Regions from separate parts of the Homo sapiens genome. Here regions 1, 2 and 4 are each linked to region 3. The links are contacts of gene promoters, found by promoter capture Hi-C in blood cells and fetal thymus (Javierre and others, 2016). All regions are on one chromosome and are shown on one strand. Each heading gives the region's core, a stretch centred on a gene start or on the middle of the fragment in contact. The rest is flanking DNA. Distances are from core to core; before and after follow the strand shown.

Region 1 (4,448 bases), core at 810-3,309, 120 kb before region 3:
AATACAAAAATTAGCCAGGCATGGTGGTGCATGCCTATGGTCCCAGCTACTCGGGAGGATGAGGCGGGAGGATTGCTTGAGCCCGGGAGGCGGAGGTTGCAGTGAGGCAAGGTGGCATCACTGCACTCCAGCCTGGGCCACAGAGCAAGACTCCACCTAGAAAAAATAAATACATAAAAATAAAAGAGTAGGCAGAGACCTAGTTTATAGACAGAGAATAAAACAATATCCAAACATGAGGTCTTTCAACAAGGTGCTTTATTGGAGAGTACAGTGTGAGATGAGGCAGATAGAGGTGATGCTTTTGAGAGGTGATATTCAACTCTGACAATACTTCTTGGTGTCCAGGTTCTTGTGTGCCTTGTTATATGGAGCTTTTGAAAAGCAGATGGCAGCGTTGCGGTCGCAGTTGCAAATGAAGGCCTCACACTCTTTGTTTTTGCCTGGAGAGGGATGAAAGGAGAGGACTGAGCCAAGGTGGACCCTGTTTTGTACAATCTGGGGCAAGAAGAATTAACTGGAATAAGCTGGCAGCCATTCCACTGATGCACATTTAGGGCTGACAGATTAAGTGAATACAAGTACATCAGGATGCCCAGTTAAATTTGACTTTCAGATAAACAATGAATGCAATATTTGGGACATATACCCCCCAAAAAATTATCCATTGCTTATCTGAAAGTCATATTTATCTGGGCATCCTGTGTTTTTTTGTTTTGTTTTGTTTTTAAGACGGAGTTTCCCTTTTGTCGCCTAGGCTGGAGTGCAGTGGCGTGATCTCAGCTCACTGCAACTTCTGCCTCCTGAGTTCAAGTGATACTCCTGCCTCAGACTCCTGAGTAGCTGGGACTACAGGTGCTCGCCACCATGCCCAGCTAATTTTTGTATTTTTATTAGAGAGGGTGTTTCATCATGTTGTCCAGGCTGGTCTCAAACTCCGGACCTCAAGTGATCCATTTGCCTCGGCCTCCCAAAGTGCTGGGATACAGGCGTGAGCCACCATGCCCAACCTAGTTTCTCTACTTTAAAGCATGTATTTTAAAAATTATGGAACATCCTTAAATGGAATACTACATAGACATTTAGAAAAATTAGGTATGCCTGCACATGGAAATTTTCCCAAATAAAAAAAGCTAGTGTATGCCCCAAAAATCTGGAGGAATATGTAACTGGTTATCTTTGGGTAGTAGGATTATAGATGCCTTCCACTTTCCATAATAGATATTTATGTAGAGTTTGAAGTTGCATTACTTTTGGCTTGTTTACTTTTATAACCAAAATAAACAATAAGATTACAGTTAAAATGCATTTAAACTTTATTACATATAATTTACGTATCTCTGCTTACCTTCAGGAATCTTATTAGTTTTGTTTCTCTCCGATCCTTTATTTTATTTATTTATTTTTTTGAGATAGAGTCTCGCTGTGTCGCCCAGGCTGGAGTGCAGTGGTGGGATCTCGGCTCACTGCAACCTCTGCCTCCCAGGTTCAAGCAATTCTCTTGCCTCAGCCTCCCGAGTAGCTGGGACTACAGGCATGCATCACTACACCCAGCTAATTTTTGTATTTTTAGTAGAGATAGGGTTTCACCATATTGACCAGGCTGGTCTCGAACTTCTCACCTCAAGTGATCCACCCACCTTGGACTTCCAAAGTACTGTGGTTACAGGCTTGAGTCACTGTGCCCAACTGAGTTATTTTTAATTAATATGAACAAACATCCTCTAATGCAGGTTTCTTGTCTTAGTTGCAAACATTAAAAAAAAACTGTGTGTGAGTGTGTGTGTGTGTGTGTATTTCTCTGGGGAGAGGGTTCATAGCTTTCATCAGATTTGTAAATTTGGCCTTCTAAAGTGGAGCAGGAGGATGTATAAGCAAATTAAGCCATATTATTCAGTGACTAAAATAGTAACAATGAAAAAACAGTAACAATAAAGGTTTGAGGCAATATGAAAAAGTCATAACAAGGTGATAAGTGAAAAAGCAGAATGCAAGATTGTATTTATTCTGCAAAGTTGTCAAGATTGTTTTAAAAAAAGAAAAAGAAAGTTTATATCTAGGCTGTGCATTCATCAATTATTTATTGAGCACCTACTATATGTCAGACACTGCTCTAGATCTGGGGATATAGCAATAAAGAAAATAGACAGTAATCGGCCAGGCACAGTGACTCACGCCTATAATTCCAGCACTTTGGGAGACTGAGGCAGGCAGATCACTTGAGGTCAGGAGTTTGAGACCAGCCTGGGCAACATGGTAAAACCCCATCTCTGCTAAAAATACAAAAAATTAGCCAAGCATGGTGGTGCACGCTTGTAATTCCAGCTACTCAGGAGGCTTAGGCAGGAGAATCGCTTGAACCCGGGAGGCAGAGGTTGCAGTGAGCTGAACGGAGGTTGAGGTGATGAAGTGAGACTCTGTCTCAAAAAAGAAAGGAAGAAAATAGGCAGTAATCCCTGTTCTGTGGATCTTACATTCTATTGGAAAGATGGAATGTAAAGAAATAAGTAGCCGCACATGGTGGCTCACCCCTGTAATCCCAGCACTTTGGGATGCCAAGGTAGGAGGATTGCTTGAAGCCAGGAGTTTAAGACAAGCCTGGCCAACGTAGTAAGACCCAGTCTCTACAAAAAAATTTTTTTAATTAGCCAGGCGTGGTGGTGCACGCTCGTAGTCCCAGCTACTTGGGAGGCTGAGGTCAGCAGATCCCTTGAGCTCAGGAGGTTGAGGCTGCAGTGACCTATGGTTGCACCACTGTGCTCATGCCTGGGTGACAGAGCAAGACCCTGTCTCTAAACAACAACAAAAAAAAACCCAAACTGTCACCACTTACAAGCTGTGTGATCTTGGGCAAATAGCTCAGCCTTCTGAGCCTCAGTTTTCTTATCTGTTAAGTGAGGATAATTGTACCTATCCCATAGTGTTGTTCTGAGGATTAAAGGAGACACTGCCCAGAACCAAGAAAATTAACACTAAATCATGGCTGTTGTTACTATTATTTCCCCCCGGCCTACTGAGAACCAACTAGAATTCATAGGTCAAGGAAGGGATAAACCTACTGCTACAGGTGATTGCCGAGCCAGAGCACGAGTATGAATAGGTGTGGGTGTACGGGTTGTCCAGCAGAAATTTACAGCTGTCCAGCTTCTTGGCCTGGTCATAGCAGTTGTCATGTGTCTGGCAGCACCTGGAAAGTGGGAGGGACAGCTGAGATAGGAGTAAGTGCAGAGCAATAGGTCAGCCCTCACCTGCCCACTCTCAGGAACAGGTGGGGATGACTTCGCCAAGATGCTTCAGGAGAAATGATCCTATGGCTTGAAAAAATATAAGTCCTTTTATCATATATTTATTGAAAGCATTTTTTTTTTTTGAGACAGAGTTGCTCTGTTACCCAGGCTGGACAGCAGTGACACGACCTTGGCTCACTGAAACCTCCAACTCAGTCTCCCAAGTAGCTGGGGTTACAGGCGCTCGCCACCATGTCCGGCTAATTTTTGTATTTTTTAGTAGAGACAGGGTTTCACCATGTTGGCCAGGCTGGTCTCGAACTCCTGACCTCAAGTGATCCGCCCGCCTCGGCCTCCCAAAGTGCTGGGATTACAGGCATGAGCCACCGCGCCTGGCCTGAAAGCGATTTTTAACATGGTTGCAAGAATACAGTAAAATCCTGTATTCAGAAGGTGCAGTGACAACCACTGCTAGAAAATGACACGTGGATAGTTGCTGTGATGTTTACTGTTGCTACATTCTGCCACTGGAGGGCAGCATCGCCCACTGTTTTGCACGTCGGTCATTGTTTCCATCTCTAACGGGGTGCGTTCGCTACAGGGTCCTCTTGGAACATATTTGTTTATTTGACAAGAGGTGAAAATATGTTATCCTTAGCAGATATGCAAGTCCCCTTTGTATGCCTCGTGAGATCCTTGGCGTGTGCCCCACCCCGCCCCCGGCAGGCACTCCAATTTTCCTGCAGGCGGATCACTTACTTGTCCAGTTCATCCACGGGGGTGCCTGAGCCCCCCAAGCCACAGTAGCAGCCGTAGTTGTTGTATTCCAAGAAGGGGTCACTCCCCGGGATCACGCACTTGATCATTTTGCGGAACTGCCACACGGCCCGAGGGCTGATGCCGCTGTCGGCGGCGGCCACTGCAAGAAGACATAGCCAGAGTTCAAATCGGTCTGCCAGCACCCCGGGGACACACTGCCTTCCTGCTCCCTCGGGTCCCACGCTGCCTCCCTGACCCCTGCCAGCTGCCTCCTCTGAAGACCGTTGGACCCAGGAACCTGGTAAAGTGAAAGTGGGTAGAGGTTTTTTTTTTTTTTTAATGAAAACTTTATATATATAAAGTTTATATCTTTGTGTGTGTGTATATATATATATATCTTCTTCTTTTTCTTCTTCTTCTTCTTCTGGGACCCTACCGCCTCAGCTAGGATTACAGGCATGT
Region 2 (4,222 bases), core at 387-2,886, 110 kb before region 3:
CGGGAAGTCGGCACCGAGATGATTCTGTGCAGGCCCTTGTTAAAGTAATTCTTTTTTTTTTTGAGACAGGGTCTTGCTCTGTCACCCAGGCTGGAGTACAGTGGTGCAATCTCAGCTCACTGCAGCCTCTGTCTCCCTGGCTCAAGAAATCCTCCCATCTCAGCCTCCCAAGTAGCTGAGACTACAGGCCTGCACCACCACACAACCGGCTAATTTTTGTATTTTTTTGTAGAGATGGGGTTTTACCATATCACCCAGGCAAGTCTCGAACTGCTGGACTCAAGGGATCCGCCTTCCTCAGCCTCCCAAAGTGTTTCGATTACAGTTGTGAGCCAACGTGCCCAGCCAAAATAGCTTTTTTTTTTTTTCTTTGAGACAGTCTCACTCCGTCACCCAGGCTGGAGTGCAGTGGCGCGACCTTGGCTCACTGCAACCTCTGCCTCCTGGGCTCAAACGATTCTTATGCCTCAGCCTCCCAAGTAGCTGGGACTACAGGTGCGTGCCACCACACCCAGCTAATTTTTTGTATTTTAGTAGAGACGGGGTTTCATGTTGCACAGGGTGGTTTCGAACACCTGAGCTCAGGCGATCCGCCCGCCTTGGCCTCCCAAAGTGCTGGGAGTATAGGCGTGAGCCACCATGCCTGGCCCAAAATAGCTGTTATCTTTTAAGCTTCTCCACATAATTGAGTGGCTTTTTCATAATTTACTATTCTTTGTCCAATCCAGTATATCAGTAACTCTAACTGCTTCTTTAGGTCTTCATTTCTCCCTCTCTCTCTCTTCTTTTTTTTTGAGAATGAGAGCATCTTGCTCTGTCCTCCAGGCTGGAATGCAGTGTCAAGAACATGGCTCACTGCAGCCTCCAACTCCCAGGGCTCAAGCAATCTTCCCACCTCTGTCCCCTGAGTAGCTGGGACCACAGGCTTGTGCCACCATACCTAAATAATTTAATATTTTATATAGATGAAGGTCTCACTAAGTTGCCCAGGCTGGTCTTGAACCCCTGGCCTCAAGCACTCCTTTTGCCTCAGCCTCCCCAAGTACTGGGATTACAGGTGTGAGCAACCACACTCTGCCTTCATTTCTTTATGGAGGCTCCCATGCCATGCACAACTTTTAATAAATAAATGTGTACGCTTTTCTCCTATTCTTTTTTTTTTTTTTTTTTTGAGACAGAGTCTCACTCTCACCCAGGCTAGAGTGCGGTGGCATGATCTCAGCTCACCGCAGCCTCCAGCTCCAGGGTTCAAGAGACTTTCCTGCCTCAGCCTCCTGAGTAGCTGGGACCACAGGCACCCACCACCACACTCGGCTAATTTTTGTATTTTTAGTAGAGATGGGGTTTCGCCATGTTGACCAGCCTGGTCTCGAACTCCTGACCTCAATTGATCTGCCCACCTCTGCCTCCCACAGTGCTGGGATTACAGGCATGAGCCACTGTGACTGACTGGCCCTGTTCATCTATCTTGTGTCAATTTAATTCTTGGATCCTGCCAGGACCCTAAGAGGATGGAGGTGAGTCCTGCCATCCCTAAAACAGGAAAATGAGGTATCCCTGAATGCACAGAGACACAAGACATTCACAAGCCCAGCAACGTTTTCAAATAATTTATTAGGAATTTAAAACTGAAAATAAAACCTGGAAAAAGAAGTTACAGATGTGGAGAGAAGAGACACCGGAGGATGGTAACTTGCTGGCTTCGAAACACCATGTAACATCTTAAAAAAAAAAAAAATCCCAAAGCAAATCAGAAAACGGAATTCCAGGGTCCTGAGCCCATGGTTGGGCCCAGTGGGGTGGAAGGGTCCGGGAATGAGGGAGAGGGAAGCTAAGTGTCTCAGGACTCAGCTCAAACGTGTAGAAAATTAAAAATAAAAACCAATAAAATGCAGCTTCTCTTTTATTAGGAAACATTAAAAAAAAAAAAAACCCAAAACACGAACAGCCGCGCATCTCAGTAACAAAGATTATTGCTTTGTGTTCTCAGGGCTGATAGGTTAAGCACCTCACACAGACAATTAACTCTCCAAAGGTGGGGTTTCCGGGTGGGGGCAATGCTGGGGAAGAGAGCTCAGGCCCTGGGCCTCATAACTGGGGGAGAGGGACACACAGAAGGGGGATGGCAGTGGGTGGGCCTTGGCCCTGCCACGCCAGCCAGGCCACTGTTCATGAAGGTCCAACGCTCTGAACCTCTCTTTTTCCTTAGAAGGGGGGTCTGGGGTGAGGGGCTGCCAAGGGACTCTGGCTGTGGGGTCATCCTGGTGGGAAACTTCAGTGAGAGAATGTGGGGGTTCCCTGAGACGCCCTTTGCTTTCCCCTGGGGTCTGCCCTCGCCAGAGCGTCCCCTGGTGCCCACTCATTGCGGGGGTCGAGGGGGAAGGGGGACAGACTGAGCAGAAACCATGAAGCCCCAACCTAGGTAGGGAGCAGGGGAGACCTTTGGAGAGTTAATTCCTGTCCAGCAGTGTCGCTGGGCAAGCCCTGCTCTTCCCACGCCCTTTGCCCCCACACTGGGTTTTTGGAGTGGGCAGGTCCAACCAAGGCCTTGACCCTGAGGGCCTGAGAGAGCGGGCCTGCCGTGGCCACAGCTGAGGCCTGCAAGCTTACAGTAACGGTGTCTGAGGGGACAGAAACAGGGGAGGGGGGAGCCCCTCACCCCCGAGGGGTCTTAGAGAGGGGTGGGCACATCACCTCACAGTATTTACATATGATACAGGACGGGATGGTTCCAGGGGCTCGGCCTGGCCTCCCCGCAGCCCTGCCCTCCTCTCCAGGGCTGGAGGGAGGCGGCCAGGGGCCCACACCCAGATAGACACTTTGTTCTCAGCTGGTGGGGGGCACCTGGCCCCTTGCCCCCTGCGGCCTGGGGCTTCACATTCACAAACCTAGAAATAGTTTAAAAAAGGTTTCTTTAAAAAAAAAAAAAAAAAAAAAAAGGGAAAGGGTAAAGGAGGGGAAATCTGAATAAAAAACAGGGGTTGGGCTGCGGCCTGTAGCAGGCTCCCTCCGCCTTCACTCCAGCTATGCACAAATCCAAAAGCCTTTTGGGGAGGGGGCGGTCCTAGGGGGGCGCGGCACGGAGGGAGGGATGGACCAGAGGGCTGGGGTGGGCAACCGGCTAATCCAAAATAAATAAAAGCAGGGCCGGGAGAGGGGCGGGTGGGGATGGGGGCAAGGGCGAAGAGGGGGACGTTAGTAGGGGAGCCAGACGCTGTTGGGGGCAGCAGGGCAGGGGCCGGGCCCGGGGAGTTGGGGGCAGGCAGTAGCGGGTCCGAGTCGCTGCAGGGGAGGGGGCGGCGGCTGCGGCTGAGGTCTCCCGCCCCCTCGCTGGCTCACTCGTGGTCCTCAGTCAGCTGCAGGCTGGGGCGCTGGGAACACAGCCAGGAGGTTATGGGGGCTCCCGGAGCACACGCAGCCCTCCCCAGTTCTCTCCCAGAAGAGCTTTGTTCGTAAACTACCTACTTTCTTCTTCTTATTTTTTTAGAGACAGAGTCCAGCTCTGTTGCCCAGGCTGGAGTGCAGTGACAGCGATCATAGTTCACTGCAGCCTCAACCTCCCTAGGCTCAAGTGATCCTCCTGCCTCAGCCTCCTGAGACTCTGGGATTACAGGTAGTATCTGGGACTACAGGTGAAAGCAAACACACTCTGCTCATTTTTGTTGTTGTAGCAGAGATGGGGATTCACTATATTGCCCAGGCTAGTCTCAAACTCTTGTCCTCAAGCCATCCTCCTGCCTTGGCCTCCCAAAGATCTGGGATTACGAATGTGAGCCACCACACCCAGCCAGACTTTGCACTTTCTGTTCCCTGGTTGGATGCCTCTTTCCCCAGATTTCGAATGGCTGGATTTATTTAAATGTCCCCTTCTCAGAGATACCTTCTCTAAACCCCACATCTAAAATAGCCCTGTCATGCACAGTCTGGAATTATCTCATATGTTCACTTGATTTTTGTCCTGTGAAATGAGAGAGGACTTTGTCTGTCTTGTTCATCCTCTTTCCTGGAATGGGGCTCATAAATGAATGGGTGAATGAACAGAATGTCATGGGCTCACAGTCTCCCACCATCTGGATAGACACTGTGATGGCCGTGTACACAGTCCCACAAGTCGAGGTATCCTGTTGTTTTTTGTTTGTTGAGGTGGAGTCTTGCTCTGTTGCCCAGGCTGGAGTGCAGTGGCCTGATCTCGGCTCACTGCAGCCTTCGCTTTCTGGGTTCA
Region 3 (4,254 bases), core at 1,122-3,621:
TTACAGGGCAGGATGAGTAAACAAGGCAAATGAAGCGAGCACCTTCAGCTTCCCCCCTACCCCGACATTTAACCAGATGCAGCATTTTGACATTTTTAGGATATGCAGGTTGACAATTCACTGACTTGGGTTGAGAGCTGGCAATAGCAGATCTTTGCAATTTAGGTTCTTCCTCCACAGCTATTCCAAGTATCTTAATTCCTGAACTGCACACTGAGAGCTCTGAAATGGTGTTCACTGCAACATTCTTGCAGCTTTCACATCTTAATCTGACACCTCTTGTGAAGGCAGGGAACTGTGTTAAAAGCTGTCTTCCTCTTTGCTAATCCAGGCCACCATCAATCTTAACCATTAGTTACTATATAAAAATAAAAGTGTGCTCAAAAGCACTCACTGAAACTGTTGTGCCCAGATCCCTTTTCAGAGCATTAGTTCCCTGAGAGGAAAAAAAGAGGTCCTAACCAATTGCTTTCATAAATAGTGACCCCAGTACAGTGTATATGTCTTTTGCAGCAGAAATCAAGAGGTCAGGCAGCTCTGCTCATCCTGACTAGTTTATCATCGTTTGCATACAAGGTATATTTATGTAAAGCTGATTCCACGCCAAGTATTGCAACCATAATCTCAAAAAAATTGTTCAATTTTAGCACACAGTTCCTGCAAGATACCACAGCAGGTGAGAAATCATCTCAAAGAGTTCATCTTTTACAACTGAGAGGAAAACATCGAAGGAGGAAATAAAACTCCTCTCTCCTAAGTTCCTCATCAAATCTGATGGCTATGTTCACAGAGTTAGTTGACAAAAATCCAGAGTCCTCAATTTCTGGACTTGCGAAATCCTTCAAGGTGACTGTCAAGGTCAAGAAGAATTTTCAGGCTTTTCTTTGCCATGGCCCATGAACTCCAGTCCTTCAATAGGAATCTCTTTCTCCTTTATTGCTTTCTGGTAGGAGGAGAAAACACATTATAAAGACCTACATGAAGCTTAAGTTGCAAGCTTTGTAAATAAAATATGACAGTACAAAAGTAAAATCAAGCTGATTATAAAGACTTATAACCATGATTCAAACCACATACTTTTTAAAAAACAAGTACCGGTCAGGTGTGGTGGCTCACGCCTATAATCGCAGCATTTTGGGAGACCAAGGCAGGTGGATCACTTGAGGCCAGAAGTTAGAGACCAACCTGGCCAACATGGCGAGACCCTGTTTATACTAAAAATACAAAAATTAGCTGGGCATGGTGGCGCATGCCTGTAAGCCCAGCTACTCGGGTGGCTGAGGCATGAGAATAGCTTGAACCTGGGAGGCGGAGGTTGCAGTGAGCTGAGATTGTGCCATTGCACTCCAGGCTGGGAGACAGAGTGAGACTCTGCCTCAAAAATAAATAAAAACCAGAAGTACCATAATGAATAAATCAAGTGTAAGACCTGAGGGAGACTGGAAAAGGAGTTGTGAGGGAACCGTTAAAATTAAGTGAAATTTGAAAAATAATCATCACTTTGTGTTAGTGAAAGACTTAGGTTCAAATCTGGGTTCCAGGACTTACTGGCTATGTGACTAACTGTAAATGGGATGAAGACAGCAACTACCTCGGGGAATTGCTGTGAGGATGTGTTGGGTTAACTTATTGGAAGTGCTTTGCCCGGTGCTGTTCTTAACAATTCAAAGCAGTTCCACATCCATTGGGCCAGAATAAACATTTCCTGGCTGCAGTTGCGGGGACTGGTCAAGAGAGAGAAACAGGCTAACGAAGGGTTTATAACAACAAAAAAATGTGACCCTCCAGTCTGAATTCTGAAGTATAATCCCGCCCAGACCCCAGCAGTAATAGTGGAAAAGTGCACCACCTGCGAAAGAACCAAGGAAACCTGATGCTAGTGAACTCGGATTAATCACTTCCTATTTCTGGGTGTTAGTTTTTTATGTATAAAATATGAGTAACTATGCCCACCTTGCGAGTTTAGGGTGAACACCAAATGAACCAAAGGATGTGACTGTGCTTCTTGAAAAGCACTGCCCCAATATTTGTCATTCGGAGAGACACCCAAGTGGCCTCGGTGGTGATGGTAGGGGAGCGAGCTCCTGCCACTGGCCTCACTGCGACTTTTCTCCACCCTTCCAGTCCAGTCCCAATCCCCGTAAAATACGATGAGTGTGGTGGGACACAGCGCCGAGAATGCAGGGCCTGGGAACAGAGGCGGGAGGGCTCACCTGAACACACTGCTGGTAGCGCTTGAAGAGGTCGGTGCACGGGTCCCCGGAGCTGTCCCCCTTGAGAAATTTCTCGGCGAACCAGCGATTGAAGCACTGGTCGTACTCGCGCTTCATGTCCGTGCATGCCTCCCCCACACTGTTCATGGCGACAGTGGTGGCGGCGGCGACGACGGCGCACTCTGATGTCATCACTCTCAGGCGCGTCGCTCGGCGTTACGCGCGGGCGCACTGCGGGGGCCAAGGAAGGAAGAAATGTGGTCGCGGTTGGTGTGGCTGGGCCTTCGGGCCCCTCTGGGCGGGCGCCAGGGCTTCACCTCCAAGGCGGATCCTCAGGTAAAGGCCAGGGCCATCTAGGCGGGTGGCGGAGCAAGCCGGGAGGCACTTCGGAGCGCCGGTGACCCACACTCCCCGCCTCATCCCTCCTCCAGGGCAGTGGCCGGATCACGGCTGCGGTGATCGAGCACCTGGAGCGTCTAGCGCTTGTGGACTTCGGCAGCCGCGAGGCAGTGGCGCGACTGGAGAAAGCTATCGCCTTCGCCGACCGGCTACGCGCCGTGGACACAGACGGGGTGGAGCCCATGGAATCGGTCCTGGAGGACAGGTAAACTCGCGGCTGCAGCCCCGAAGCCTTGACCGTGGCCCGTTCGCAGCCGTTTAATGTGACGATTAGCGAACAGTTTTCCAGGGGGTTAAAGAGTGTTAGCAAGATTCAGGAACTTGCCCACAGTCACCTCGCGAGTCAGTGGCTTCACTCTTCCCCTTGTTCATTACTGATGCTCTCGCTAGTGTAAGTGGAAACAAAACCCGAACTGCTAATCACTGCCTTTGTTTTTTTTTTTGTTTGTTTGTTTTGTTTTTTTTTTTTTGAGACGGAGTCTCGCTGTGTTGCCTAGGCTGGAGTGCAGTGGCTCGATCTCGGCTCACTGCAACCTCCGCCTCCCGTGTTCAAGCAATTCTCTGCCTCAGCCTCCCGAGTAGCTGGGATTACAGGCGACTGCCACCAGGCCCGGCTTATTTTTTTTGTATTTTTAGTAGAGACGTGGTTTCACCATCTTGGCCAGGTTGGTCTTGAACTCCTGACCGTGATCCACCCGCCTCGGCCTCCCAAAGTGCTGGGATTACAGGTGTGAGCCACCGCGCCTGGCCTAATCATCGCCTTTAAGGCCCTACTCCATAGAGTCCCTACCTACTCACTCCAACGTACTCTTCTCAGTACTCTCCTTGGCTACCTTGACTGCTTCTCCAGCAAGACAAGTTCTTTTCCTCTCTAGATCTCTGCACTGGCCCTTCGTTTTTTTCCTTCCTCTCAGTATTTGCATGGCTGCCTCCCTCTTGGCACAGGTCTCAGCTTATCTTCTCAGAAAGGGCTCTCCTAACCACTCCAAATCCCTTCTCCCCTTCTAGTTAGTAACTCATCCTATTGGGTTTTTTCCCTAACATTTTAATGGACTTTTGTTCATTTGTTATATCTCTTTTATTAAAATGTGAGCTCATTATGTAGTTACTGTTTTATTCCTGCCTTGAATTTTTATTTTATTTGTTTTTGAGATGGAGTCTCACTCTATCACCCAGGTTAGAGTGCAGTGGCATGATCTCAGCTCATTGTAATGTCCACCTCCCAGACTCAAGAGAGCCTCCCATCTCAGCCTCCCAAGTACAGGACCACAGGCGCGTGCCACTTGGCCTGGCTAATTTTTTGTATTTTTGATAGAGACGGGATTTTGCCATGTTCCCCAGGCTTGTCTGGACTCCTGAGCAAAGGTGATCCACCCATCTCAGCCTCCTAAAGTACTGGGATTACAGGCATGAGCCACAGCACCTGGCCGTGTTTGATTCTTTCAAATGTCTTCTCTACTTTGCAATTTTCTTTTTCCTTTGGGACGGGGTCTCACTATGTTGCCCAGGCTGGTCGCAAACTTCTAGACTCAAGAGATCCTCCTGCCTCAGCCTCCCAAATAGCTGGGACTATAGGTGTGCACCACCACACCTGGCTAATACTTAAAATTTTTGTAGAAACGGGGTCTTGCCATGTTGCCCC
Region 4 (4,528 bases), core at 134-2,633, 120 kb after region 3:
TTCTGTATGCTTGTTATTAGTTCTTTCCCCAGGGGTGTTAAATCAGTGAACACGACAGCTAAGATAAACATCTAGGGAGCTTGGCTCTTAGGTCTGCATTTGCCACATTGCTTTCGGAAAGCAGGAGATATCCTTTCTGTTGACTTAGAGTTTGCTGCAACAGGGTGTGCTGGAGTATCTGTCTGCCTTCGATGAAGAAACCACGGAAGTTTGTTCTCTGGACACTCCTTCTAGACCTCTTGCTCTCCCTCTGGTAGAAGAGGAGGAAGCAGTGTCTGAACCAGAGCCTGAGGGGTTGCCAGAGGCCTGTGATGACTTGGAGTTAGCAGATGACAATCTTAAAGAGGGGACCATTTGCACTGAGTCCAGCCAGCAGGAACCCATCACCAAGTCAGGCTTCACACGCCTCAGCAGCTCTCCTTGTTACTACTTTTACCAAGGTGAGGGTGCCGGAAGAGAGGGCTGGGTTGCCGCAGAGGTGTTTCAGAGGTGACCCGGTGCTCTAAGCAGAGGAGCGCCACTAGATCCTGTGGCTTGGGTGGCTTGAGCCCTTGGGCATGGGGAGGGGTGGGGAGCCTCCTGGGGACTGGCCAAGACTGGTGTGTGATAGAGCCCCTTGTCCTCAGCGGAAGATGGACAGCATATGTTCCTGCACCCTGTGAATGTGCGCTGCCTCGTGCGGGAGTACGGCAGCCTGGAGAGGAGCCCCGAGAAGATCTCAGCAACTGTGGTGGAGATTGCTGGCTACTCCATGTCTGAGGTGAGGCCTTCCTGTAGAAATGGAGGGTCAGGCAGCAGTATTAACCTAATCTCTTTGAGGTAGGCCTAGCCATCCTAAGTTCACAAACCTTCAAGGCCTTTAGTTTTTGTATTTTTAGTCTTTCTGTCAGTGATGGTGCTGTGAATTCTTTGTAAGTGAAGTGTCCCCTCAGCATGCCAGGGTTCTGTTAAATCAGTTAATGCTGTTCCCTGCTTCTCTGGTTCATTGATTGTAGTTTGGGGATATAGATATTTCTTTTATTTAAGATGGAGTTTATTTTTGTTTCTTATCCTCCTTATTGCTTGGGAGAAATGTCACAAATTTGTTGTAAGATTTAAAATTAGACTCTTTGAGTACTATAAATTTTTCATCAAACATATGCAGAAAAAGAATAGAAATGAAAATAAATGGGCTGGATGTGGTAGCTCACACCTGTAATCCCAGCACTTTTGGGAGGCCTACTCAGGCAGATTGCTTGAGGCTAGGAGTTTCAGACCAGCCAGGGCATTTCTACAAAAAATACAAAAAAAAATTAGCTGGGTATGATGATGTGCACCTGTTGTCCCAGCTCCTCAGGAGGCTGAGGCAGAAGGATCACCTGAGCTGGGGAGATCAAGTCTGCAGTGAGCTGGCCTGGGCGGCAGAGCAAGACCATGTCTCAGAAAAAAAAAATTGGGCTTCATTTTCTACTATTTCAGGCCAAGTGTCTTTCAATAGGGAGATCTGCTTTATCTTCCTTCCCAGTTATTTATTCTGTCAGTGGTTCCCAGGTTTTTTTCTGTTCTGTTTTTCTGCCAACAAATAACTTTATCTTCTCTGTTCGTCCCCCTCAGCTGTGGGGCCTTGAAAAAATCAGAAACAGCTGATGGGCTTTAGATTATTTGTTGCTGGACTCAGTTCACTCCTTTGCAGTACAAACCAAAAATAACTGGATTTGGTTGCTTATTCCACCTTGCTGTAGGTTGACAGTTTCTCTTTGGCTTTTCAAAATGAGGATAATTGAGCACTACTGTTTCCAGCCCCAGTGCTGGCTGTGTTATGTATATATTGTTGGATATCGGGGTTAGGACCCCCTGCTTTCAGAGTTAGGCTTGCTTTTGTTGAGTATTGGTCCTTTTTCCAATGTAGGATGTTCGACAGCGTCACAGATATCTCTCTCACTTGCCACTCACCTGTGAGTTCAGCATCTGTGAACTGGCTTTGCAACCTCCTGTGGTCTCTAAGGAAACCCTAGAGATGTTCTCAGGTGAGAATGCCCCTGCTCTGCTTCTCTTTATAGTAGGGTTCAGGGATTCTTGTGGCTAGACACCCAGTGGGGGAGGAAACTTATGGAACTGTATCATGAGTCTTAGTACCTCCTAAACACTTCATCTGTTCATCTAGTCCAGCTGGGCCTACTGTTGTGGGTTTAGCTGCTAATACTGGGAGGAGGTAATGACCATGTTGTCCTGGGTCTACCTCTTTACAACCTGACCAATCTGCAGATGACATTGAGAAGAGGAAACGTCAGCGCCAAAAGAAGGCTCGGGAGGAACGCCGCCGAGAGCGCAGGATTGAGATAGAGGAGAACAAGAAACAGGGCAAGTGTAAGTTCAGGAACTTTCATCTTTGACTAGCACTGCTGTACGTCGTTGTATAGAACTCTGTGTCTGGGACCTGGGAGCCAGACCTTAGCCACTTGTTTTCTTCAACTTTTAAATGTGAATCATGAGAGCACCTCCTTAATAGGCTTGCTTGCAAATATAATGAGTTAATATGGGTCAAAGTGCCTAGCACATAGTAAGGATTAAGAGGAAATTCAGCCTTGGTAATAGTGGGTGATATACACCTGTTCCAGAGATGGGAATTGGGGCTTCGCTAAGAATGCTGGGGGCCATCGTTCCCCATGCTCTCTGGATCACTGACCTTACCTCTGACTCTTTATTAAAGGGACCAGCTATACACAGCAAGTCTGCCAGGTGGGTCTGATAAGATGGAAATTTTGATAGACTAGGAAATGCAGGAAGTTGGATTTAAGAGATCTTTCGTAGCAGTAAGCACAGCCTTTTGATCTGGTTCTCCAAAATAAGTTTCATTGAATCCAGGGGATTAGTGTGACCTGAGGTCCCATTATCCACTAGAACACAAGGAACTGAGTCCTTGGCCCAGAAAAGGACTTCGGTGTTTTGACTCCATATGGCATGGAAACATACATTTTATATCTCAAGTGGGACAAGTGTATACTTGGGGTCCCAACACCGTGTAGGTGTTTGGCACATGTCCTGAACTTTGAGAAAACTGATATTTCAGGAATAGGATTTTTTGTTTTCACCTTTTTATTATGGAAATATCAAGACAAGTAGAACAATGTAATTAACCTGCATGTTTGTTACCCAGCCTCAATTATGAATAGTTAGAACAAGGTTAACTATATTAAAGACATTATAGAAGGACAGTTATTGTAAATTTGGGTTTTAGCTTTTGTCTGCATCCTCTAGACCTTTGGGGGTACGCATGTGTGATGTCCTCAACTGTTGGAAACTATTTGAAAAATTCAGGCCAGGTGTGGTGGCTCACGTCTATAATCCCAACACTTTGGGAGGCCAAGGTGGGCAGATCACTTGAGCTCAGGAGTTCAAGACCAGGCTGGACAACATGGTGAAACCTCATCTCTTTAAAAATTCAAAAAATTAGCTAGGTGTGGTGGCACGTGCCTGTGGTCCCGGCTACTCGGGAGGCTGAGGTGGGAGGATCGCTTGAGCCTGGGAGGCAGAGGATGCAGTGAACAGAGATCGTACCACTACACTCCAGCCTGGGTGACAGAGTGAGACCCCATCTCAAAAAAAAAAAAAAAAAATTGAATTCTGTAAATGGGTTTACAAGGGTTATCTTTCCTTTGCAGACCCAGAAGTCCACATTCCCCTCGAGAATCTACAGCAGTTTCCTGCCTTCAATTCTTATACCTGCTCCTCTGATTCTGCTTTGGGTCCCACCAGCACCGAGGGCCATGGGGCCCTCTCCATTTCTCCTCTCAGCAGAAGTCCAGGTTCCCATGCAGGTAAACAGGTGAAATTTAATGAATTCACCCATCAGTTAGACCTTATGCAAAGCTTTGGTGTCTGAGTTTACAACCCCGGCCCACTCAGCATGGTGTGGACTTCAGGGGCATAACCTTACTTTGGTAGTCCTGAGGTACATCAAATTCTTTTATTCATCTTTCCCACTTGCTATACTGACTGCTTTACCCTGCCAGCTTCTAAGCACCTCAAGGAGCTCTTTAGGCAGGATAGTTGAAAATGGAGTCTTCCCTTTGACCCACCTATTTTTGTTTCTAGTTTTTGTTTGAGATACTCCCCTGTATGCCTAAACATCTTTGTACATGTCTCTTTATTGTAGCATCGTTTTAATAGCTCAAAAAAAAAAAACAGTTTAGAAAGCCTACCAATAAGAAAATGACTAAATTATAGTATTTATACTGTAAAATGTTTCACACCAGAAGGCCGGGCGTGGTGGCTTATGCCTGTAATCCCAGCACTTTGGGAGGCCAAGGCGGGTGGATCACGAGGTCAGGAATTCAAGACCAGCCTGACCAACACAGTGAAACCCTATCTCTACTGAAAATACAAAAATTAGCAGGGCATGGTGGCAGGCGCCTGTAGTCCCAGCTACTTGGGAGGCTGAGGCAACAGAATTGCTTGAACCTGGGAGGCGGAGGTCTCAGTGAGACAAGGTTGCGTCACTGCATTCCAGCCTGGGCGACAGAGCGAGACTTTGTCTCAAAAAAAAAAA

Evidence for each region. The method cuts DNA at HindIII sites, captures the fragments that hold promoters and counts their contacts. A CHiCAGO score of 5 or more calls a contact.
Region 1: a contact is called between a fragment that was not itself captured here and the fragment with the promoter of TRIAP1 in region 3, in 2 of 17 cell types (megakaryocytes and erythroblasts). The highest score is 6.1, in megakaryocytes.
Region 2: a fragment that was not itself captured here is called in contact with the fragment with the promoter of TRIAP1 in region 3 in 1 of 17 cell types (megakaryocytes); the score reaches 5.0 in megakaryocytes.
Region 4: a fragment that was not itself captured here is called in contact with the fragment with the promoter of TRIAP1 in region 3 in 2 of 17 cell types (M0 macrophages and endothelial precursors); the score reaches 5.6 in M0 macrophages.

What each region holds. Positions count from the first base shown.
Region 1 is chr12:120,321,875-120,326,322 of GRCh38, forward strand. It overlaps PLA2G1B (phospholipase A2 group IB), which reads right to left. Exons shown (of 4, transcript NM_000928.3): 2 at 3,987-4,146; 3 at 3,060-3,187; 4 at 241-443. The coding sequence ends at 319. Among named protein-coding and RNA genes, the nearest start is that of PLA2G1B, 3.7 kb to the right of the region's middle. RefSeq lists an enhancer at 3,802-3,861. The HindIII fragment of the contact is 7,122 bases long and covers 1-4,448 here.
Region 2 is chr12:120,339,735-120,343,956 of GRCh38, forward strand. MSI1 (musashi RNA binding protein 1) reads right to left here. Exons shown (of 15, transcript NM_002442.4): 15 at 1,596-3,371. Among named protein-coding and RNA genes, the nearest start is that of PLA2G1B, 14 kb to the left of the region's middle. The HindIII fragment of the contact is 1,933 bases long and covers 671-2,603 here.
Region 3 is chr12:120,444,013-120,448,266 of GRCh38, forward strand. TRIAP1 (TP53 regulated inhibitor of apoptosis 1) reads right to left here and starts at 2,372. Exons shown (of 2, transcript NM_016399.3): 1 at 2,214-2,372; 2 at 1-943. The coding sequence starts at 2,360. The coding sequence ends at 860. It overlaps GATC (glutamyl-tRNA amidotransferase subunit C), which reads left to right and starts at 2,432. Exons shown (of 4, transcript NM_176818.3): 1 at 2,432-2,549; 2 at 2,645-2,817. The coding sequence starts at 2,469. RefSeq lists enhancers at 1,554-2,401, 1,713-2,912, 2,127-2,676, 2,274-2,568, 2,402-3,247. The HindIII fragment of the contact is 13,544 bases long and covers 996-4,254 here.
Region 4 is chr12:120,563,184-120,567,711 of GRCh38, forward strand. It overlaps RNF10 (ring finger protein 10), which reads left to right. Exons shown (of 17, transcript NM_014868.5): 9 at 164-440; 10 at 627-760; 11 at 1,889-2,006; 12 at 2,245-2,346; 13 at 3,642-3,797. Among named protein-coding and RNA genes, the nearest start is that of POP5, 16 kb to the right of the region's middle. The HindIII fragment of the contact is 4,928 bases long and covers 1-3,847 here.